Linked DNA regions of Homo sapiens: all the other regions are linked to region 5. The links are contacts of gene promoters, found by promoter capture Hi-C in blood cells and fetal thymus (Javierre and others, 2016). All regions are on one chromosome and are shown on one strand. The core of a region is centred on a gene start or on the middle of the fragment in contact, and the rest is flanking DNA. Distances in the headings are between cores, read along the strand shown.

Region 1 (3,269 bases), core at 676-3,175, 4.8 Mb after region 5:
TGGGCATACATCCTCAATATGTTAATATATTTGTTTATACATTATATTAGAGCTACTATACTAATACCATATATAAGGTATATACAAACAAATATTAAAATAAAAATTAATTCAAATAGAAAAGAAAAATGTTCTGCCCACATCCCAATGGACTGTCTTGCAAATCTCCCCAGGGCTTACGCAATCCACTTCAGATATTACTAAGTACAACATGAAAAGTAAAATGAATTGCTTCCTGGACCTGTTTCCCCTAGGCCTACAACCTTATCTTATTAGATCTTGCCACTCCATGAAATATCTTGCTTTTATTATTATTTTCACATCACTCTAGTATATCAACTTTGGAAACAAAAGACATCATTCTATTTATAGCATTCTATTTTTAGTAGCAGCATTTCAATTTACAAAATATAGTAATTCTCAATCACTGAAAATGTCAAATCCTAGAAAACGTAGCATTCCTGAGTGTGATGGTAATATCATCCTCAAACAGTTGTTGGCCGAAGATTCATTTGATGAATCCAATTTTTCTGAAATAGACAATTCTGATGATTCAGAGAATTCTAATGTTAGTTCTGTTTAGAAATAACTCCAAGAAGAGTTTTTATATTTTATTTTCACATTGAAAATCAGTCAGATTTGGTTCAGCCTCGAAGGGCGTGTTTATGTAAAGTTAAATAAGTGCTGGCAGCGAGCTGCACTTTTTTTTTCTAAACAGGAAATGAGTTAACTGTTTTTTTCATCCTTGGATCCCTTATTACATAGTTACTTCACATTATCTATAAGACTCAAAGCTTTGGCTGCAATGATAACCAAATTAAAAGAGGTCCACACCTACAAATTTATCTACCTTCCCATCCATTGAATTTTCCGTTTCCTTCCTTAAGGAAGACAGGGTCCTTTTTCTAGGGTAACTAAGTGCTGTCATTAAAATCACTAGGAAAAAAACCATATTACTGGCTCTTATCTCAATACGGTTGCCTAAACATATATGTTTATCTCCCTTCTCTTCCAAATTCCATTGAAATGACAAGGAAACAAAATAGTCTAAAACTAAATAAAACCATAACCACACTAGAAAACAAAAGAGGGTGACATTAGCAGGTTAGAAGTGGAAAATTCTAGATCCATGGTTCTTAACTTTGGCATGCATCAAAATCGCCTAGAGGGTTGGTTAAAACACAGATTGCAGATCTCTATCCCCAGGGTTTCTGATTCAGTAAGCCTAGGGTGGGGCTCAAGATTTTACATGTCTAACAAGTTCCCAGGTAAAGCTGATTCTGCTGGTCAACAGCCACATTACAAGAACCATCCTAAGTAAGCAGAGGTCACTAAGAAAAACACTTTTTATTAATTTCAATTAGCATCCTCGGAGAGATTCAAGAGAATGGTACAACCTTTTTTTTGGAACAGCAAGTGGAAAATAAGAAATAGTTCTGGAAAAATTGGAAAAAAAAATAATTTCCAAATGAAAAACAAAATCAGAAGAACCTAATAACAACTAAAGTCCAATACAGCAATGTGAAAAATAGTCAAAGACATCTTTCAAAACACAGAGCAAAAGACAAAGAGATCAAAATATGACAGAAAAATTAACAAGCATAAAGGTCAGTATCTACCTAACAGGTTTCTGGAGACAGAACAAACACATCACAAAACATAATCAATGAGCAGAAGAAATTTTTCCTATGCTGAAAAATACTCAAAGCTTGATACTGCAGGGCCAAATCCCACGCAGGTTAAGCCAATAACTAGACGCATGTTTGTGGCACTTTTAAATGTAAAAGACATAAAGAAAACCTAAACTCTTTGAGAGGGAAAACACTGGTTATTACAAAAGAACATGAATCAGACTATCATCAGACATTTCATTAGCATGCTAGAAAAAAACGGTATGTTGTTTTCAAAGTTCAGAGAGGAAATTATTTTGAACCTGGAATTTTATAGTTAACTAGAATCTAGTTAAGCTATCAAATAACGAATATAAATTAAAGACACTTTTGGAAATTAAAGAAATAAGCAAATTTACTTCCTATATGTATTAGTTTCCTACTTCTATAAAATATTATCACAGAAGTCCAAAGAGATCTCAATGAGCTAAAATTAAGGTGTTGGCAGAATTACGTACCTTCTGGAAGCTTTAGGGAAAAATCAATTTCTTTGCCTTTTCAAGCTTCTGGAAGCTGACTACATTCCTTGACTAGTGGTCCCCTTCTGTCTTCAAGGCCAGCAATGGTGGATTGAATCCTTCTCTTATCAAGTCACTCTGACTCGGACCTACCTCCATCTTTCATTTATAAGGATCTTCAATTGGACCTAGCCAGATAATCCAGGATAATCTTCCCATCTCAAGATCTTTAATTTTGCTGGTGTTAGTCACACCAGCAAAGTTCCTTTTGGCAGGAAAAGTAACATATTTACAGGTTCCAGGAATTAGGATGTGGACACTTTTGGCAGGCCACTGTTCTGCCTACCAAACCATATAAGGACTCAAGGGTGTCCTTCAGAAAAACAAAAAAAAGAATTCAAGAAAGAGGATAAGATGGGATACATGAAAGTAGGTCCCCCATAAAAGGAAGCAAGTTGAAAAAAAATTTTTTAAGAAAAAATTTTGTCTTGATATTTGAATCTTCTCTTTCTAGAAGCGCAACTTTAGAGAAACTTAATTACATTTTCTTCCCTAAAAGTCCTTTTATGCTACCTGTTTCTATGGTGAATAAAATTTACATAACCAAAATATTATAAATCTTGTTTATTAGTTTCCAATTTTCAGAAATATACAGCCAAGCATCAGAAGACATGAATATCTATGTCTAGTTCCAGGATCTGGCAGATTCTGGACTCCATATACTGATAACATACTTACAGAGATACCACATATTATTTTTTCATATGTGCTATTTATTAGGAACTGAAGTTACATAGTACGGGTAGAAAATAAGTTAGAAGTATAGCCACAGTTAAACATATTAAATGATTCTTGCCTGTATTCTATAAAATAGGTATGAAGCAGAAATTAAAATCAATTCTGAAATACGTGTGTGCCTTTTCATTTAGTAGCTGATAATTTATGGAGTTGCAAATAAGTTGAATGTTATTTTTTTTAATATCTAAAAAGATAACATCCAACAATAATGAGACTATGAAAAATTGATACTCCCATAGACTATAGCTGAATTTTTTTTTCTTCTCCCAAGGAAAAGAATGGAACTGAAATTTTTTACAAGCAAACTTTTAGGAGTACAATTTAAAGTAGGAATATCTTTTGA
Region 2 (3,170 bases), core at 14-2,513, 4.2 Mb after region 5:
CCCCATCTCCTGCCTAGACTTCTCTTTTTCTCTCTATCTCATACAATTAGGCCTACTTGAGGGGAGGAAGAAGGCAGGATAAGATGGGATATTAATCCTTCAGCTAGGCAAATAATGGTGTATCAATCCACAGTAGCCATTTGCTGCATTAAGGTGCTTAAGGGCTTTCCCCAAATTTGTTTTATGGGTACCAATGATATTTTCAACATGAAGAAAAGGTGCTAATTATGTCTTGGCTGTTACTGTAGAAAATATTTTGACAAGAGTTAAGGTAATTGTGAGCATGGGACTGGAACAGGAGGAAAGTAGTGCATTGACCTTCTTGGCATTTTGTTCCACACAGCCTTGTTCTGTTGATATTCCAGAACTGTATTTTCAGACTGAAATCCCAAAGATGGTATCAGAGTCTAGCTTTAAAATGTCATGCTCATGAAACTCTAGTCCTAGGACATAACTGAAATACTGAAAGCAGCACACTATTTTTAAATAATTCGTATTTTGTAAAGATTATTTGTAATGCAGACTCCTTTTAAAGGAAAAACAATTCATTCAGATCCCACCAGCACAAATACTTTAATTAGACAAAATCTTCAAGTTATTTCCTCTCACAAAAGGAGGTATTGTTGGGCCATCTGGACTCTCTATTGAGTTTTTATGAAAGATCACAGCTTGAATTTAATCAACCCCAATAAAGTTAACCCCATAAAGCTAAAAAATAATTGCAAGAATTGCTAACTGAAGGATTTGAATTCTCTGTTTGAGATTGTTACCACTGTCATTTGTAAATCATTACAATGGGAAACAGGAACTTGTATTGCTTGACTATTTAACCTCATGAACATAATTTTTGTGAATTTCCCACTCTATTTAGACCAAATTTAGATTGTGAGTCTCTCTACATAGGAATAACAAAATGAATGTTTGGCTCTATATAATAACTAGAAGATCATTAGTAGAAAGTTCAATAAATGTTTGATAATAATAACATGAAACACTCTAGGTTTTATGGATTTCTGTGGATTTGTGGCTAACAGAAGGCTTTAGATTATATTTCGAAGTGCCAGCTGAGATAATCACTTTGGAAAATACAAATCATTTAAAGAAATCGCTGAATTCACCTGTGAAAGTTGAGTTAGATGTCCTTCCTCAAGTACAATCGACATATTTCCACATAACATCTCTCTAGTAGGTAAATGTGAGTTACTAACAACAAATAACTATAGGTCTGAAACATCTGGAAACATTCTAAAGAACTGGTGCAGTATAGTTTCTGAAACCAACGATAAAGTGGCTAATCACTTCTCAATTAAGTCTCTGTCGGTTTTCCCTATTATTTTAAACTAAAATAGATGGTAAATACTTATTTTGCCAATTCACATGTTGCATTTTCTTCAAAAAGGCAAAAATACAACTATTTTTCTAGTTCAATAAATATATACATACTTCTAAATACAGAAGGCCCCTGACTTACGATGGTCCAACTTAAGGTTTTTTGTCTTTACGATGGTACGAAAGCAATAGTGACAGCATTCGGTACAAACTGTACTTTAAGCACCCATACGACCATTTTTTTTTCACTTTCAGAACAGTATTCCATACATTACATGAAATATTCAACATTTTATTATAAACTAGGCTTTGTGTTAGATGATTTTGCCTGACTGTAGGCTAATGTAAGTGTTCTGAGCATGTTTAAGTTAGGCTAGGCTAAGCTATGATGTTTGGTAGGTTAGGTGTATTAAATGCATTTTTGACTTTACAGTATTTACAATTTATGATGTGTTTATTGGGAAGTAACCCCATCATAAGTTGAGGTGCATCTGTACTTCTGTATGTCTCAAATTACAATGTGATTCTTTTGATGAACACATAGCTTCTTTCATATACATCTGTTATACAGTGAGGAATAAGAATACTCACCTTCTTTCTCCAACTAGGCTTCTTACTCCTCTTCGGCACAGCCCAGGACAGGCCTATATCACATACATCATTTGTTTCTGGTTCTAATTCTTATAGGAATAGACATTAAATAACTTTTTTATGCTATGCCACAAAATATTTATATTAGTTATTCTGAGATTTTACAAACATGACAATAATGTAAAACTGATGTAGCAAAAGCATATAAAGAGCTATATGTATCCTATAAATTAAATTCTTATAGAATTAAATTTAAAAGGAAGCAATTATTTAAAATGATATTTTAGAAGCATGTATTTATTGAGGTAGAAAAATAGTCATAATACTTTATGTGGGAAAAAATGGTACAAAGCAATAAAAGCTGTATGTTGCTGTTGTTGTTGTTGCTGTTTGAGATGGAGTCTCACTCTGTTGCCCAGGCTGGAGTGCAGTGACTCAATCTTGATCTCAGCTCACTGCAAGCTCCGCCTCCCAATGGGTTCACGCCATTCTCCTGCCTTAGCCTCCCAAGTAGCTGGGACTACAGGCGCCCGCCACCACACCCGGCTAATTTTGTATTTTTAGTAGAGACAGGGTTTCACCATTTTAGCCAGGATGGTCTTGATCTCCTGGCCTCGTGATCCGCCTGCCTCGGCCTCCCAATGTGCTGGGATTACAGGCGTGAGCCACCGTGCCCGGCCTTAAAAGCTGTATGATTCTTATAAAAAGAAAATGTCTGAAAATAAGATGACAATATTATTGACCAACATGTTATTAGAGATTTTAACTAGATGGTGAGATTATAGCTAATGTTTATTTTTTTCTGTCTGTGTTTTCTAATTTTCTACAATGAACATAGTATTTCTTGTACTATAAAAATTTGAATTATAGTGGGGTTGAAAATTGAGAAAGGCAAAGAGACACTGTACAAGGCAGGATAAGGTAAATTGTCTTGAAGCAACTGGCTGCCTACCATGTATGTCTCTATTTTCTCTTTTACGCTTCTCTTTTCTTCTCTCTTTTTTTACCCCCTCCTACTCTTACTTTAGGTGTTTTTTCCTTTTTCCTTTCCTTTTACTTTTTAATTCTCTGTCTTCTTTTCCTTCTCTCTTAATTATCTCTTGGGCCTCTTACAGGCCACATTAGGTATTGCCTGGTTCCGTTTGTGGCAGTCTGTGATATTGCCTGGAATGAAATGGTCTATGCAAACATCTTCTTGCCGCCACTGGATTGTATTGACTTTAATGACCTTTTAAAAAGTTCTTTTACAG
Region 3 (3,251 bases), core at 568-3,067, 4.1 Mb after region 5:
CTGGGGTTGGCGGGATAGACGGTTTGGGGATGAAACTGTTCCACCTCAGATCATCAGGCATTAGATTCCCATAAGGAAGGTGCAACCTAGATCCCTCACAATCACAGTTCACAATAGGGTTTGTACACCTATGAGAATCTAATGCTGCTGCTGATCTACCAGGAGGCAATGCTCGCATGCCCTCTGCTCACCTCCTGCTGTGCGGCCGGGTTCCGAACAGGTCACAGACAGGTACCAGTCCATTGCCTGGGGGCTGGGGACCTTTGTCTTAAATCAATCAGAACCGGACTCCTTTAATGTAGGAGATTTCATAATCTAAGTTGTTAACACCCTCTGGATTTAGGAAAGCATTACACATTCATATAATGAGAGATAAAGACCTTTCTGAATTACAAACATGCAGACATAGAGTTTATAGCTTTAATTCTAAAATTTCACTCACGGGTCAAGAATAAACACGGAAGCACAAAAAAAATTACTAATTCAGATATCAAAGAGCTGTTCCCCTTCTTGATGGGCACAATATTCTTAATTGATTTGAGCCCAAAATGGACAAAAGGTGTATAAACAAGACTAATAAACTAGTTTCTCTATAGTCTGTCACCCAACAGAGACTAGATCTCTATAAATATTAATCCATTCACAGAGCTTACCAAATGATTAGACCATGACACCAAATTCCCAATCATTGTTTCCACCCAGTACAGCAGACACACTGGCTGGCTGGAAGCAAAACAGAGACAAATCACAAACTTAATAGAGAAAAATATTAAAATTAGAAAAACAGAGTCACCAAAGTTCTATTGTCATTTGGCAGCCAAGAAAAAAATGTGTTTGGGCTTTAAGCAGCCCACAAGCTAGTCTGGTGAAACGTATATCTGGTTTTGTTAAGATGAATCCAATAGACAACTCATTGGAAGACCTCCAAACTTTTAAAAAGACAATTTTTTTAAAAAAGTGGATAAAATCATGCCTCTCATACACATAAAAAATGAACACACGTTAAAGATTTTATCACGAATCAATGCGGAAACGCAGGAGACGTTACAACTAGTTCAAAAGAGAAATAAAAAAATTATGTGGAATAAAGGAAGGTTGAATGTGCAAATGGAAGCAAAACTGGGTTCTTCCATAGTGGTGAAGAGAAGTCAATTGAACTTCCAGTCAGGAGAGAATTTGCACAGCTATAAACAGAAATTATTAACTGCCATCAGTTATCTACAATCTACAGAGTTGTAAAATAGCTTCCATAGAATGTGAATCAGATTTTGTATTTTCCAGACAATCCAGTTTTCTACCTGGGCACAAATGTTTTTTCCATACAAATAACATCTATTTGTAAATAACATTTTTCTGAAATAACATTTCAGAAAAGTGGATGAGTGTATATAGAGTTAAATTTGTAGTAATTACAAGAAATTAAGAAGTTCCTCTCTGACATGGTTTTTTCCCTACCATAAAACAGAACATGAGGTTTACACATCTTCTACACATTAGGGAACTGGTTGCCATGAAAGGGCTCCAAGCACCAAAATATCTCACATCAGCTTTACCAGAGTGACTTTCTCATTTCATTAAAAGTAGCCATTAAAACACAGATAGGTCATATGGGTGATATGCCAGTGATTCTCTGAATACAGTGGCATAAGTCAATCCTCTGGAAACTGTAAGAAGTTGGGTCTGGGAATCTATCACTAAGAAAGCTTGAGAAATACTGTTCTAGTATATTTTAGTTTGTGGAGTTAGTTAGCAGAGCCCTGAAGAAATAAAACCCAGACTGATGAGTCTTTAAATATCCTTACAATTGTAAGTGGGACATTTAGGAGGAGTCTTGGGGAGCCAGTGGGTGCATTATGAGGGAAGGAAGTATGGCCATAAAAGGAAGCCAGTAGCAAAGAAAGGGGCCTGGTGGGGAACTCGAAACAAGCTTCACCTGATGTAGTGTGTCTGATGGAAAAGAAAGGAGAAGAGAGGAAAGAAAGAAGGGTGCTGACAAGCCCAAAGAAGATCTTATAAAGGCTGAGAGCTCACAGGAGGCGTGGAGAGAAAGAGAGAGGCAGAGGGAGAATGCAGAAAGATATCTCACAGACACCCCGGCCGTACTCAGGACAATTAAATCAGAATCTCTTTCCAGGCACAGTGGTGTGCACCTGTAAACCCAGCTACTTGAGAGGCTGAGGCAGAAGGATCATTTGAACCCAGGAGTTCCAGATCAGCCTAAGCAACATAGTGAAGACCCTGTCTAAAAACAACAATAACAAAGTCAGAATCTCCAGGGGAGGACTCAGTCACTCGTATTTTTAAAAGCTCTTGTGATTGCGACCTGCAGCCCAGGTTGATAACCTTTGTTTCCCACCTGGAGTTCACCAATTTCACACCAGGTGACGCCGGTCATTGATGCTGTGGTTCTAAATGACTCATCTGTTCCTTGCTAAAGAGGATGTGAGGATTTAGGATGAGTTTCTTCTTCTTTTTAATTAGAGCAAAATTCCTGAAGAGGAAATGACCTGTGGTTTTTGACTTTCAATTGTGTCACATCACCAAATGTGCCCTTTCTGTGAGTAAAAAGAACAAGGTCAGCTTTCCACTTAGTGTGTGCTGTCTTGTTCTGCAGTCAAATGAGCAGAACTCAGAAATATAATTGTAAAATGGCAGGCTTGAGGTCTTTATCTTTTTCTTTGCAGTTTACTGCAAATAGTATGACCTAGTAATACTACAAATGGTGCAGTGAAAACAGCAATGAATTCGGCATCAGAAGATGGTAGGACCAGTGGCCAATCTTGCCCAGGGAGGTCACTACACTTATATCAGCCTCAGTTTCCTCTTCCAAAAAATAAGATACATCTCTTTGGATCTAAAATGTCATTGATTGCGAAATGCACCATAGTTTTACATGTCACAAAGGAAAGGCAGTTGTTTTATTTCAGTTAATGTAAATCGTTAAAATTATTATGTTTATTGATGAGTTCAAATGTTCCAGAATATAAAAATAAAACATTTGTCTCACTGAAAAAATCCTTTAAATAAATTTCTTAAAGCCAATTTGTTAATAATTCCTATTAAGTAAGACTCATCGTGAGGGTGGTGGGGGGAGTGCGGTGGCTCACGCCTGTAATCCCAGCACTTTGGGAAGCTGAGGCAGGTGGATCACCTGAGGTCAGGAGTTTGAGACCAGCCTGGCCAACACGGCGAAACCCCGTCTCTACTAAAAATACATAGCCGGGGCGTGGTGGCGCACGCCTGTAGTCCCA
Region 4 (3,325 bases), core at 648-3,147, 4.8 Mb after region 5:
CAAAGAGTTTAGATTATTTGTTTTAGGGCAAATTGCTGAAAGCAATATGGAGATGGAGGTCTCTTATTACCTATACAGGACTACTGCATGCTACTGACAAAAGAGTATTCCCTTAGGACCAGCTACCATAAGAGAAGCGCCTGGGGGAAATATCACTACTTCTGCAGAAAGAAATCTGAATGCCTACTTCACGACTTAATTTACCTCTAAGCTTCTCATATAAATCTGTGTTTCATTAGTTTTAGTTAAAAGTAATTTATTTCAGAAGCCCATAAACATATGTAATGTCCTTGTCTTGAACTGCATTGAAATTGCATTTTAATTTATAAGGTATTCAAGTTTTTATTAACATATTTGTTGTGTCCCGATTATAATAGTTTATAATCCCTCTACCCTTCCTAATTCCATCATTCCTTGAAATTCTGTCTCAAATTTTTCTTTTTCTATAGACTTCTCTGATAATTTCATCAAGCATTAAACTTCACCTTCCTTAACAGTTAACATTTTATTTAATAGAACATGAATTTAAGGTGCAGTTTGATTGCTTTCATTTTATAAATTGAAGTTAGCAATGCTAGCCTATGTCAGGTCTCTCTCATACAATCTTTTCTTTTTTCTTTTTTTTTTTTTTTTTTTTTTTTTGGGGTCAGAGTCTTGCTCTGTCACCCCTGCTGGAGTGCAGTGGCATGATATCGGCTCACTGCAACCTCTGCCTCCCCGGCTCAAGCGATTGTCCTGCCTCAGCCTCCTGAGTAGCTGGGATTACAGGCACTTGCCACCACACCTAGCTAATTTTTGTATTTTTAGTAGAGACGGGGTTTCACCATGTTGTCCAGGCTGTTCTCAAACTCCTGACCTCAGGTGATCTGCCCGCCTTGGCCTCCCAAAGTGCTGGGATTATAGGCGTGAGCCACCGTACCTGGCCCCTTTTACTATTTTCATATGTCTTCTATTACATAGAGCTATGTGGTATTTGAGGAACAAAAGTATATTATAATGATAATTTATATCACCTATATGTAGCACAGCGCCAGGCACATTGTAGGGGATCAGGAGTTAGTGAGTGGTTAGCTATTATAAAAGCAATGCATACTGGAAATATCAGTGGAGTAGAGAGATAGAAAAGCCTGGGATGTTGTCAGAACTCTGCTACTAACTAGCCGCATGGCCTCAGACAAATCATTTAACTCTAAATCTGTTTACTTCATACACCATGAAGGGATTAAATGAAATAATCTGTAGATTCTTCTTCCAAGCTCATATTGAATTAAAATAAGAACTGAAGAGAACAAAGTTGTGTAACTTCACTGTTCCTAAAATACTTTTGAGAAAATAAAGGCAAATAGTTTAGAGATGCTGCAGACCAGAAAAAGCACAAGGTATATTTTCTTCCTTAAAGAACACAAATTGAAGTGTTATAAATGGATTTTTCACACTTACCATCATTTTCACCTTTACCTCTATTCTCATCATTTGTTCATCTTGGGAATAGTTTCTTGTCTGCCTTTTGGGAACTAGATTATTGACTTTTCATGTTCCAGGGAGTCTGCAACTCTGACCCCAGTTTCAGTCAAAGAAATTGTTGTCCAAAGTCCTTCTGAGTAAACAACACAAAATAGAAGTATTTTGTAGACTATTATAGGCTCTCTTCTTGCCTAAAACACAGAAGGCTGATCAGACCCTGTTTTCCTTTCGCCAAAGTATTAAAATACATCGACCAACATAGATATCCATTCCTGAAAGTCTCAAATTAAAAATATCAAAGTCAATGTTACTTGCACGCTATCTATAGATTCAACAAAACCCCAATCATAATCCCAGCAATTAATGAGATGATTCTAAAATTTCTTGAGAAAGTGCAAAATGAGAGCATTTACTCCTGACTTAGGAGTGATCAAAAGTTTCTTAGATGTGTCACAGAATACAAAAGCCATTTTAAAAAATGTACAAGTTAGGCACGATCAAAATTTAAAACTTCTGCACATCAAAAGATCCCACTAAGAAAATGAATAGCCAATTTGCAATAGCCACAAATAAAATAGAACACCTAGGAATAAACTTAACCAAATAAGTGAAAGATCTCAGCTGGGCACAACAGCTCACAATTTTTGAGGGTGAGGCAGGTGGATCACTTGAGCCCAGGAGTTTGAGACCAGCCTGGGCAACATGGCAAAATCCCCTCTACTGAAATACAAAAAATTAGCCAGCCATGGTGGTGTGCACCTGTAGTCCCAGCTACTCAGGAGGTTGAGGTGGGAAGATCATCTGAGTCCAGGAAGTTGAGGCTACAGTGAGCCAAGATTGCACCCCTGTATGCCAGCCTGGGCAATGGAAGTGAGACCGTCAAAAAAAAAAAAGAGGGAGAAGAAGGAGAAGGAGGAGGAGGAAGAGGAGGAGCAGGAGGAGGAAGAGAAGGAGGAGAAGGAGGAGAGGAAGAGAGGAAGAAGGAGAAGGAGAAAGAGAAGAAGTTGATATGGTTTGGATTTGTGTATCCACCCAAATCTCACGTTGAGTTGTAATACCCAATGTTGGAGGTGGGGCCTGATGGGAGGTGATTGGATCATGCAGGCAGATTTCCTCCTTTGGTGCTGTTCTACTGATAGAGTTCTTATGAAATCTGGTTTTTTAAAAGTGTGTGGCAACTCCCCCATCTCAGTCTTCCTCCTGCTTTGGCCATGTGAAGATGTGTCTACTTCCCCTTCACATTCTACAATGACCACTTTCCACAATGATTGTAAGTTTCCTGAGGCCTCCCCAGCCACACTTCCTATATAGCCTGCAGAACCATGAGCCAATTAAACCTCTTTTCTTTATAAATTACCCAGTCTCAGATATTTCTTTATAGCAGTGTGAGAATGGACTAATACAGATCTCTAAAATGAAAACTGTAAAACACTAATGAAAAAAATAAAGGAAAAAGATACTCCATGTTCATGGATTGGAAAAATCAATATTGTTAAAATGTCCATAATACCCAAAGCAATCTACAGATTCAATGCAAACCCTATCAAAATACCAATAACATTCTTCACAGAAATAGAAAAAACAATCCTAAAATTTATATGGAACCACAAAGGAACCAGAATAGCCAAAGCAATCATAAGCAAAAAGAACAAAGCTAGAGGCATCAAATTATATTACAAAGCCACCTGACTTCAAATCATACTACAAAGCTATAGTAACCAAAACAACATGGTACTGGCATAAAAACAGACACATACACCAATGGAACAGAATAGAGAACCCAGAAATAAATTCATGCATTTACAGTCAACACATTTTCAATAAAGGGACCAAGAACATACATTAGGAAAAGAACAGTCTC
Region 5 (3,567 bases), core at 521-3,020:
TCAGGTGTGAAATTTTCCACTTGTGGTACTGGCACTCAAAAAGTTTCAAATTTTGGATCATTTTGGATTTTGAATTTTCAGATTAGGAATGCTCAACCTGTACCTAAGTAAAGAATACTAAGATACAAGTGCAGGTCTGGATATCAAATCACAGAATTACATGGAGAAGCAATACACAGATCAAATGGCCATCAGTTAATTCTGTATTAGAGGCTCAAAAGAACAAGTAAAACTTGAAAATTCAAAATCAATGATGGCAAAGAAAGGAATAGCAGCACCTTGTTAAAGACAACATTTTTTAAATATACAAAGCATATTCCCAAATGTGTTGCATATCAGTGTTCTCCATATTTGAAAAAATATGAAACACCTCAATGAAAACAAATGATCTGAAACTGATTGCTAATTTGGTACAAAACAAAAACTTACAGTTACCCCATTACCATGCTTGAATAAGAAGGTTGCTCAATTTGAGACTGGACATTGTGAAGTATTTTTCTGCCTGTAGAAATAGGCTGGAATGTCAGTTGTATATCTTGCTGCCAACAAGGGAACAGAAAAGATTTCCCAAGATTCTGTCAAGCCTGGTGATCCCATTTGTCTTTGGAAATGAAAGCCTAATTAAGAGACTCCCTAGGGACAGGTCAAAGGAGTTTTTATCCCCATCGTCCTTATCTTAGTTCCTTGATGCATTAGTCCTTCCCTTTAATTTAGTCTACCCTAAAACTAAAGAATACACATTGTGCAAGTTTCCACCTTTGCTTTCTCTACTGTAAATGCATTAGACTATTAACAGAATTACGAGTTTTAAATCCCACCTTCCTTATCTCTAAGCTGATGTTGATTTCTTAAAGTGTTTTTGAATAAAGCTTAACACTAAAAATTATTGTAATACTTTAATTGGATAACACTTTTTAAAAATATCGGAGTCTGACTAAAAGATTACAAAACCCCACAAACATCGTTATAATAAAGCTATTATGATAAATAATACTTTGTAAAATTTGAATTCGGTTTTATGTCCTAATTTCAAAGATTGTGGTTGCATGATATTATTTATCCAGGTTAAATTCCTGTTGGAATTATATTGACAGTGTTTCATTTCTTTGAAACAATTTTAGGGTTAAGCGTCTCTACAGTTAAAACAGAGAATATCAACTGTAGTCCCAGTTACTCAGGAGGCTGAGGCAGGAGAACCGCTTGAACCTGGGAGGCGGAGGTTGCAGTGAGCCGAGGTAGTGCCACTGCACTCCAGTCTGGGCGACAGAGTGAGACTCTGTCTCCAAAACAACAACAACAAACTTGAAGAGATGAAAATGTTCTATCCAATCATGATAATTCCGTGTGAGTTTTCCAATGTTTAGAAACACGTGTGGGCACCACTCCATCCCTGACCAGCAAGCTTCCTCCAGACCCACTCCACACCGCCATGTTAAAATGTCAACTTTTACTTTTTGGACTCAAACTACAAAATTTAACTATGTCTCCTCTTACCAAGATTCACAATGAACACCTAGGAGTCAAGGTAGGCTTCATAACGCTAAAGAGACCACGACTCTAATGACCACCCCAAACACAGCATTCCAGCCTAGCTGTGGTCTGCAATTACCCACTTCAGAGCCTCGGCGCAATGTCACAGCTGCAACTGATTGGTGTAACGTGCTTGTCATTCACATAGAGAGGGTGGGGCCTCAAAGCCCGATCTAAACCAGACTCCGTGTCTTACGTCATCGCCAAGCGACTAAAGCTGGAAGGGAGGGGGCGGGGTTGTGAGCAAATCTTGGTGGTGGTGGTGGTGGGGCGGCCTGAGAAGATATCATGGCTGCTGCCACGGAGCTTAATCGCCCGAGCAGCGGTGACAGGAACCTGGAGCGAAGATGCAGACCCAACCTCTCCCGAGAGGTGCTCTACGAAATCTTTCGCTCCCTACACACCCTGGTTGGACAGGTGAGAGGTGGCCTGAGGGACTGGGAATATGGAAACCATCCGGTCCCTCCTCGCCATTCTTTTTCTCTAGCAGAGGCCGGGGGCAGCTAGGCCTGCAGAGGTGTGGGATGCGGTCCCGAAGCCGAGGTGTGGAAGGAGCCCGGGCCCAGCCTCCTCGGTCGGAGTGAGGAGGACGGCGGTACCGGTTGCAGAGTCGTTTACCTTGCAGCTGTCCTCCCCAAGAGTGGGTGAGGTTGGCCTAAGTGAAAACCCGGCTCCGAGAGAGGCAGGCTTGGAGAGAATGAATGTGGAAAAGCTTCACTGCGAGTTTAGGAGGCGCTTAGCGTTCAGGGTCCTTTTTCCTCCAACTTACTCTTTATGGGAATTGGTTGGTCAGTAGGCCTGAGATTTATAGAAAAGCGCGCGCTTATTAGCTTTTTTTGGTGGGGGAGGGAGTAATTTGTTCTTATGAGTTACTTGGTTTTGTTTATTTCTTTTTTCCTTCGGGCTGTTTTGCGCATCTATAATCCTTTCAAATGGGGAGAAAAGTAAAAGGAATTCATTTAAAATACTTCTAGCGTAAAATGCTGTTGGCGTTAGAACTGTCGTTATTTAACTATTAACTAGTTTAACTGGCTGATAAATCGCTTTTGCAGAAATGTCATAGTAAAATTGGTTTTAAATTGAAATGGGCTTCTTCGATCAAGTCACTGTTTCGTTTCATGGTGTAAAATTCAAGTTTTAAATGAGAAACAATTTAAAAGTATGCTTGTTTACCTGCCTTTTAAAAGGAAATATTTTCTATCTTACATAGACCATTTTCTAGCCGTAAAAGTTTGTTTTGGGGCTGGTACTAGCGCAAGTGGACAAAGCAGGCATTTGTGTCAAAGATAATGGTAAATTCCTATGAAAATAGAACATTTGTCTGATTTGTGAAAATTATTTTTAAAGCCTTGAGTAGATGGAGAATCAGTCTTTTAAGAAGTTACTATTTTTAAAAATCGTAGTATGTTGTGTCTTACAAAGAACATTACTGTAAGTTAAACGGTTTTATGAAATGACGCAGTTATTAATGGAGTCTGCTTAAAGATATAACTTTTAAATTCAGTTGTTTGCCAAGTACTTACCAAAAACATTTTTTAAAGACTTGGGGTGTTTTGTTATTAACATTCCATTCTTAAGACCCAAGACGTTTAAATGGTTTAAAAGTTAGAGAACTTTTTATGGCGACGTTGGAACTTAAGTTTATTTATTTTATAATGTCAAGATGAAAAAAGTTTATTCTCACCTGTTAACAGAAGATGGAATATTTTTAAAAAATACTGAGCAATGATTTAAACATTTCTTTTGAAATATTTTGCATACTGAATTTTTCAAACTCATTAGAAAATTTTAAACATTCAAGTACTGTACAAGTAAAGAAGTGATTACAATTTACTTATGTCACCTGTCAAAAATGTTCACAGTAAATATTTGGTTACTTTACCATGACACAGTGAAGGGACCTCCTATACAAGTGTCAAAAATATGATTGTTTCATCAATTAAATACAAACTGTTTTCATAATACTCTATATTTTGAGAAGTGTTAAGAGTGAAAATTAGAGTTCCATACTTATAAAATTGCCCCCAGAGAAATCAG
Region 6 (3,100 bases), core at 129-2,628, 4.9 Mb after region 5:
AACATTTGAGGTTGGGAAAGTAATTGTGGGCTTTTTTTTTGTTTTAAGGGAAGGTATGGAGTTTTTTTAGAAAATGTCTGATCATACTAGCGAAAATGTAACCCTTGGCTCCAACTTTGAGAGACTGTTTACTTCAACCTTGTACTAATGTAGATAGGCTAAGGCACACTTTCTATTCCTGGCATTCTTCTGATTTCCTTAGCAGCCCCAAGGTATGTCTATGAGCAAACATGACCATCTTTTAAGTTTAGTTTGCTCAATGCCTGCATTATTTTTTCTTCTGATTACATTCTGAAAGTCCTCGGGGCTTTTATTTCTTTTTTTTTTTTTTCTTTTGAGACACATTTCACTGTCGCCCAGGCTGGAGTGATCTTGGTGCGATCTTGGCGCGATCTTGGCTTACTGCAACCTCTGCCTCTGGGCTTCAAGCGATTCTCCTGCCTAAGCCTCCCAAGTAGCTGGGATTACAGGTGACTACCACCATGCCTGGCTAATTTGGTTTTTTTTGCTTTTTGTTTTTTTGAGACAGAGTCTTGCTCTGTTGCCTAGGCTGGAGTGCAATGGTGTGATCTTGGCTCACTGCAACCTCCGCCTCCCACGTTCAAGTGATTCTCCTGCCTTAGCCTCCTGAGTAGCTGGGATTGCAGGCACTGGCCACCACGCCTGGCTAATTTTTTATTTTTTTAGTAGAGATGGGGTTTCACCATTTTGGACAGGCTGGTCTCAAACTCCTGACCTCGTGATCTGCCCACCTTGGCCTCCCAAAGTGCTGGGATTACAGGTATGAGCCACTGCGCCTGGCCTAATTTTGTATTTTTTTGTAGACACGGGGTTTCTTTTTTTTTTTTTTTTATTGCTATACTTTAAGTTCTAGGGTACATGTGCACAACGTGCAGGTTTGTTACATATGTATACATGTGCCATGTTGGTGTGCTGCACCCGTTAACTTGTCATTTACATTAGGTATATCTTCTAATGCTATCCCTTCCCCTCCCCACACCCCACGACAGGCCCCGGTGTGTGATGTTCCCCATCCTGAGACATGGGGTTTCACCATGTTGACCAGGCTGGTCTCGAACTCCGGACCTCAAGTGATCCACCCACCTCAGCCTCGAAAGTTTTGGGATTACAAGCGTGAGCCACCCCACCCAGCCACAGGGCTTTTACTTCTTTTCATTATATACATATTTGCCTTTTAAAACCCATATGTTGAAAATCTAACATTTGCTTAATACTGCATAATGGATACTTGCTTTCCACTTAAATGTTGTGGTCTTTATAATCTGCAGGTCAGCAGTGTAGCTAGGGGCTGTGTGAAATGTTTAAGATATGATCACTAGCCCCAAGGAATTTACCATCTAGTAGGGGACACATTAGCCACAAAAATGCACTAGGTAGTATGTGGTCTCTGATGTCTGGACAATGCTATCAGTGAGTTTTATTAATAAAATAGCTGCAGAAGGAGAAGACACTTTTGGCTAGGGTAGTGAATCTTCATTTAAAAATGTATTGCTGGCCAGGTGTGGTAATCCCAGCACTTTGGGAGGCCAAGGCAGGAGGATCACTTGAGCCCAGGAGTTCAAGACCAGCCTGGGCAATACAGTGAGACCTTGTCTCAACAAAACAAACAAAAAACTGTGTCTTTTATTTTTCTGTGTGTGAGTTTATGATCTTTGTTTTCTTTATTTCTTATAAAATAAGCGAGAGATATGAACATCAATCATTATAAAAAGCAATCAGAAAAGCCACAAGGTTTAGACTGGGAGAGAAGATAGTCACAGTTCCCGTGAGATTTACACCATATTAAATAGACTTTGATAAGATTGTGTTTTAGTCTTGGATATATCCAAAACTGGATCTTTTAAATTAGAAGGAATTGGTTAGACTTTAATTAGACGAACTGAAAAAATGTTTAGGTTTGTGTTCATTTGAACCAGTTTCTTTTAATTCAACTAGTTTGTGAGTTGTTCATCAAAATAACCACATTCTTGTATCTCTTGAGTTTTCATTTGGTTTTTAAAGGCTGAACCAAAAAGCGTCAGGGTTTTCACACAGCCTTTTGCCATTTCATAGCTCCATGTTTCCTTGGTGATTCTAGTGTTCATAGTCTGCCAGGTCCACTTGGAGCTGTTGCCACTCTGCATTCCTCTTCCATTGTTGGTAATATCCTTTTTTTTCTTCTTATTTCTGTAAAGAAAGTGACTTATTTTCTCAGGGTTCTGAGTTGGCAGAAGTTACTGCAAGTATTAAATCTCCGTTCAATAGTGAAAGAGAAATATCTGATAATCTTTAAGCAATGATTAAATTTTGTGTCCTCAATCACGTTGGTGTTAGATTGCTTTTTTTTGCTTTATAAATCTGCGCTGAATTTTTGTTTCAAGATGTTTTCAGAATATTGTTTAAAATGTTACTCAGTACACTTGCTATCATCTCATAAATAATAGTGAGTGCCCATATGCTTCAACAAGGTTTTTTTTTAAAAAATCCCTTTCCCCCCAGTGGTGATATAAATTTGCTATTTCCTAGACTTTTCTGAAAATTTTATCGGCATGTTCTATTTTACTGAGGTCTTATGACCAGAAAGTGTTCATCACTATATGGCCCACAGATTTGTGTTTATCCTAAAATATGTATAGGATTATCATGATACCATATTAATTCCCATATTTTCCCCTTATGTTTTAATTTAGAAACAGGAAAGAGAAATTTTGCAAGCATTTCAATACTGAACCACTGCTACTCAGTTTGATAAATATTTGCAATTATTACTAGATTTAATGAGTGAGATACTTGCTACCTTGTATGTGTAAAGCACTGGTAGGCATTATAACCAAACAGGTAAGTATACTGCGCAGTGACCATCATTAAGAAGCTTACAACAGTGATTTACACAATAATCAATGGAAAAAAATTTGGACTTTAGCTCCCTCACACTCAGAATTAAAAAGGCATAGTTTCTTCAACAAGAATTTATTTAGAGTCTACTTGTATACCAAGTATACAAGTAGATACAAAAACAAGAGATACAAAGATAAAACATATTTCCCTCCTTTTGGGCCTCATATCAGTATATTTCAGGAGACAGATTAAGGCAAGGGAT
Region 7 (3,227 bases), core at 241-2,740, 4.9 Mb after region 5:
GGTGGCCACTCTCTATAGCCTTCTGCAAATAGAAGTAAAAAATAAGTGAGCCACAGCCTATTACAGTACCTACAGCAATGTCCACGAGATCCTCACTCAATAGGAGGGTTTAAAGTAATTAGTGATTTTTGAGAAGCTAACCATTACCATCCATACTCCATCTATTCTACTCACAGGAAGGGTTTCCCAATTTGTTAAAGAAACCCTCTCTGTAGAAAGATCTCTGCGAACCACATAACCTATTCTCTATAGACCTCCCTATTTCCTGCAGCCACATACAAATGGACACCAAAGTCTTTTCTTATTCTGGGACATAGCTAATGGTTTGTATGTCAAAGTTTCTTTCAGGCCTGTAAAATCTGAATCTGAGAGCCGGAGAGAAAAGAGACTCAGTAGTTATAATGACATAAAGGTGCAGACATGAAGCAATTCAACTTGTCTGTGCTTTGCAGACAAATGTCAACAACTGTTGGAATCCCTGCAATGCAACAATCAGAGATCATGTGAGATTTTGCTTTCTGTTTTTACTAAAAGTGTAAACCTGGCTGCAAGATAACCAGCAAACAAGCAGCTTCGATTTTGTGTACAAAGGACTGTTGATTATGCATGGACTATTTTCTTCAGTCACACTACTTTGTATGGATAGCAACACTGTCAGTGATGTCATCTTTTTAAACAACAGATCCGAATGTATAGGCACATTGTGTCAACTGAGCCCAAATCAATGACCTGGGTAATGCAATCAGGGTAACACTATTATTCCTCATCTAAACCATCCAAGCCCATAGACAAATAAATGCTAATCTGATGCATGTTTAAGGAATACGTTACATGGGAAAGAAAATCAAGCCCTTGTTTAGTTTTATTTACATTCTAATATGTACTTCCAGAAAATGCATCACAGAATTTACGTCATATGCATCAGAATAAGCTGTTTTATTTTTGTATTAGTAGCGGGCTAAGTTATTAACAATCATACTTTCTTGGATAAGAACATTTTTAACAAGGATATCTTCTAAAGAATGTGTATTCGTATAGCATACCAATACCTTTTCACAACTGTGGAATCAGAATAATTTATGGCATTCCCGATAGAGGAGGCAGCATTGTTTTTATTGATTGGAATAAGGAAAATTTTGAAGGATGTATATATAGCTTTTAGTTCCATCTCCGCTTGCTTTATGATTCGATTATTTGTTTACTTACTTTCATATGGGCATAACATGAATTTAAATCAAGCAGATTTAAAATTTTTCAACAGTTGGAACCTAAGCTTTCTGAGGTGAAAAATGTTTCTTAAAAGGTTTGTAGGAAAGAGATTTAACGAGTCTTTTCAATCGTTTAATAAAAGTATACACTGAGCGCCTTCTACAGAGTTGGGCAGGTGCTGCCGAGAAGCTTAGCGCTACGCCGGCCTCCAAGACCGCACATCCGGGACATTCGAGAGTCAGTCCGAGGCCCCGCCCTCCTAAGGGCGGGGCCACTGGGCAATCGGCGCAGGCCCTTCGTCGTGCCCCGCCTCGTCTGCCCCGCCAGCGCGTCGAGGGAGGGGCCAGCGACACATGGCCTAGTAACTGTCCGGCCGCGGCGCTGGCTTAAGCCATGGCTGAGGGTAGCCGGATTCCTCAGGCCCGGGCGCTCCTACAGCAGTGCCTGCACGCCCGGCTGCAAATTCGCCCAGCCGATGGGGACGTCGCGGCCCAGTGGGTGGAGGTAACGTCAGCCCGGCAGCTCTCGTTATCCTCCGGCGTGCGGGGCGGTTTTTTCCGCGTTGTCTCGGTGACTCGTCCGCTCTGTGTCTCCCTCTGAGACCGGCGGTCCGGCCGCGGGGATACCGGGTCAGCTTGAAGCTGGCCGCGGTGGCCTGCCTGGCTGCGCTTGTCTTTTCGGTCCAGCATCACCGTTCCCCAGCGCCAGTTGTAGCACCCGAGAGGAAGAGCGTGTCTCCCTTCTTGGGGGGACCACAGGTATTTGAAACTGAGTTCGGTGAACTTCAGGCCTTACTGTCTCAGACCCCTTGCAGCTCGTGGTCTATGCTGGTCGGGGGCAAGCTTGTAGGTCAGGTTTGCTGCAAGAGTTCATGATCTGCTTTGACTTACGCCTCAGATCGCGTCGAATTCCCCCCTATGTTGACTTGGTCTTAGCATAGAAATGAGATTTCCTAAGAAACAATTCTATTTCAAGAAGCCTTTTAAAAGTTTTGACCAATTTCCAACTGAGAAACAAAGACCTCTACTTTTATAACAATGTTGCCTTATCAAACACATTTCTCCAAAGAATTTAAAACATTTATGTCACTATGAGTTCCTTCTACTTTCATACATACTTTACTTTTTAAGACCGCCTGCCCCCACTGCATACAAAAACAAATAAAATTTTCTTTAAGGCCTCTGACGTATTTTTGGAGTACGTTGAAATGTAAGAAAAAAATTAGTTCATAATTAAGACTTTTGTAGATACTCAGAAACTTCAGTGTAGCAAAATCTCATTCGCTCGCCTTTTCTGCTGAATTCGGTCCCAGATCTAGCATTACTTAAAACAATTTTAGTTATTATTTTACATTTATTTTATTTTTTATATTTTATTTATTTATATTTTATTTTATTTTTTGAGATGAATTCTCGATCTGTCGCCCAGGCTGGAGTGCAGTGGCACGATCTCGGCTCACTGCAACCTCCGCCTCCCGGGTTCAAGCAATTTTCCTTCCTCAGCCTCCCGAGTAGCTGGGACAACAGGCGCAAGCTACCACGCTAACTTGTATTTTTAGCAGAGACGGGGTTTCGCCATTTTGGCCAGGCTTGTCTGGAACTCCTGACCTCAGGTGATCCACCTGCCTCAGCCTCCCAAACTGCTGGGATTACAAGCCTGAGCCACCGCACCCCGCCTACTTATTGTAAATAGTACCCGTGAACTATATGATGTGTGGGTGATTATTCTAAAATCAGAATCTGTTGCCCTGTGCTAATTTGGAAATATAAGCATAGAAATTCCTGTATTCTTATCTCTCTCCTTTCCCAGAAATTCACTTTTCTTATTTCTTATTTTTGTCATGATTTTTTGTGAGGTCTTGATTTCCTTATTTGAAATTTTATTATTTTATTTTGCCATCCTATCTAAAGAATTAACCTGCCAGGCGCGGTAATCCCAGCACTTTGGGAGGCCAAGGCCGGCGGATCACTTGAGGTCAGGAGTTTGAGACCAGCCTGGCCAACATGTTGAAATCCCGT

The links. Contacts are between HindIII fragments. The CHiCAGO score rates a contact against its expected background, and 5 or more counts as called.
Region 1: a fragment that was not itself captured here is called in contact with the fragment with the promoter of MBIP in region 5 in 9 of 17 cell types (naive CD8 T cells, total CD4 T cells, total CD8 T cells and 6 more); the score reaches 26.1 in naive CD8 T cells.
Region 2: a contact is called between a fragment that was not itself captured here and the fragment with the promoter of MBIP in region 5, in 1 of 17 cell types (total CD4 T cells). The highest score is 5.9, in total CD4 T cells.
Region 3: a fragment that was not itself captured here is called in contact with the fragment with the promoter of MBIP in region 5 in 1 of 17 cell types (total CD8 T cells); the score reaches 7.0 in total CD8 T cells.
Region 4: a fragment that was not itself captured here is called in contact with the fragment with the promoter of MBIP in region 5 in 2 of 17 cell types (total CD4 T cells and total CD8 T cells); the score reaches 9.9 in total CD4 T cells.
Region 6: a fragment that was not itself captured here is called in contact with the fragment with the promoter of MBIP in region 5 in 1 of 17 cell types (total CD4 T cells); the score reaches 6.2 in total CD4 T cells.
Region 7: the fragment with the promoter of DTD2 here is called in contact with the fragment with the promoter of MBIP in region 5 in 7 of 17 cell types (total CD8 T cells, activated CD4 T cells, fetal thymus and 4 more); the score reaches 12.9 in total CD8 T cells.

What each region holds. Positions count from the first base shown.
Region 1 is chr14:31,565,786-31,569,054 of GRCh38, reverse strand. The region is part of intron 3 of NUBPL (NUBP iron-sulfur cluster assembly factor, mitochondrial); the gene reads right to left. Among named protein-coding and RNA genes, the nearest start is that of NUBPL, 6.0 kb to the right of the region's middle. The HindIII fragment of the contact is 430 bases long and covers 1,711-2,140 here.
Region 2 is chr14:32,070,323-32,073,492 of GRCh38, reverse strand. No RefSeq gene overlaps it. Among named protein-coding and RNA genes, the nearest start is that of ARHGAP5-AS1, 4.8 kb to the left of the region's middle. The HindIII fragment of the contact is 4,057 bases long and covers 1-3,170 here.
Region 3 is chr14:32,205,366-32,208,616 of GRCh38, reverse strand. No RefSeq gene overlaps it. Among named protein-coding and RNA genes, the nearest start is that of RNU6-8, 3.7 kb to the right of the region's middle. RefSeq lists an enhancer at 2,158-2,317. The HindIII fragment of the contact is 224 bases long and covers 1,706-1,929 here.
Region 4 is chr14:31,549,043-31,552,367 of GRCh38, reverse strand. It overlaps LOC105370438 (a long non-coding RNA gene), which reads right to left. Exons shown (of 4, transcript XR_943723.3): 3 at 1,441-1,597. Among named protein-coding and RNA genes, the nearest start is that of NUBPL-DT, 11 kb to the left of the region's middle. The HindIII fragment of the contact is 3,368 bases long and covers 214-3,325 here.
Region 5 is chr14:36,318,840-36,322,406 of GRCh38, reverse strand. It overlaps MBIP (MAP3K12 binding inhibitory protein 1), which reads left to right and starts at 1,770. Exons shown (of 9, transcript NM_016586.3): 1 at 1,770-1,947. The coding sequence starts at 1,819. RefSeq lists enhancers at 1,372-1,421, 1,822-2,081. The HindIII fragment of the contact is 840 bases long and covers 1,405-2,244 here.
Region 6 is chr14:31,438,759-31,441,858 of GRCh38, reverse strand. The region is part of intron 2 of HEATR5A-DT (HEATR5A divergent transcript); the gene reads right to left. Among named protein-coding and RNA genes, the nearest start is that of DTD2, 17 kb to the left of the region's middle. The HindIII fragment of the contact is 2,993 bases long and covers 1-2,874 here.
Region 7 is chr14:31,455,769-31,458,995 of GRCh38, reverse strand. It overlaps DTD2 (D-aminoacyl-tRNA deacylase 2), which reads left to right and starts at 1,490. Exons shown (of 3, transcript NM_080664.3): 1 at 1,490-1,713. The coding sequence starts at 1,603. RefSeq lists enhancers at 1,326-1,505, 1,646-1,855, 1,300-1,885, 1,886-2,471. The HindIII fragment of the contact is 653 bases long and covers 1,401-2,053 here.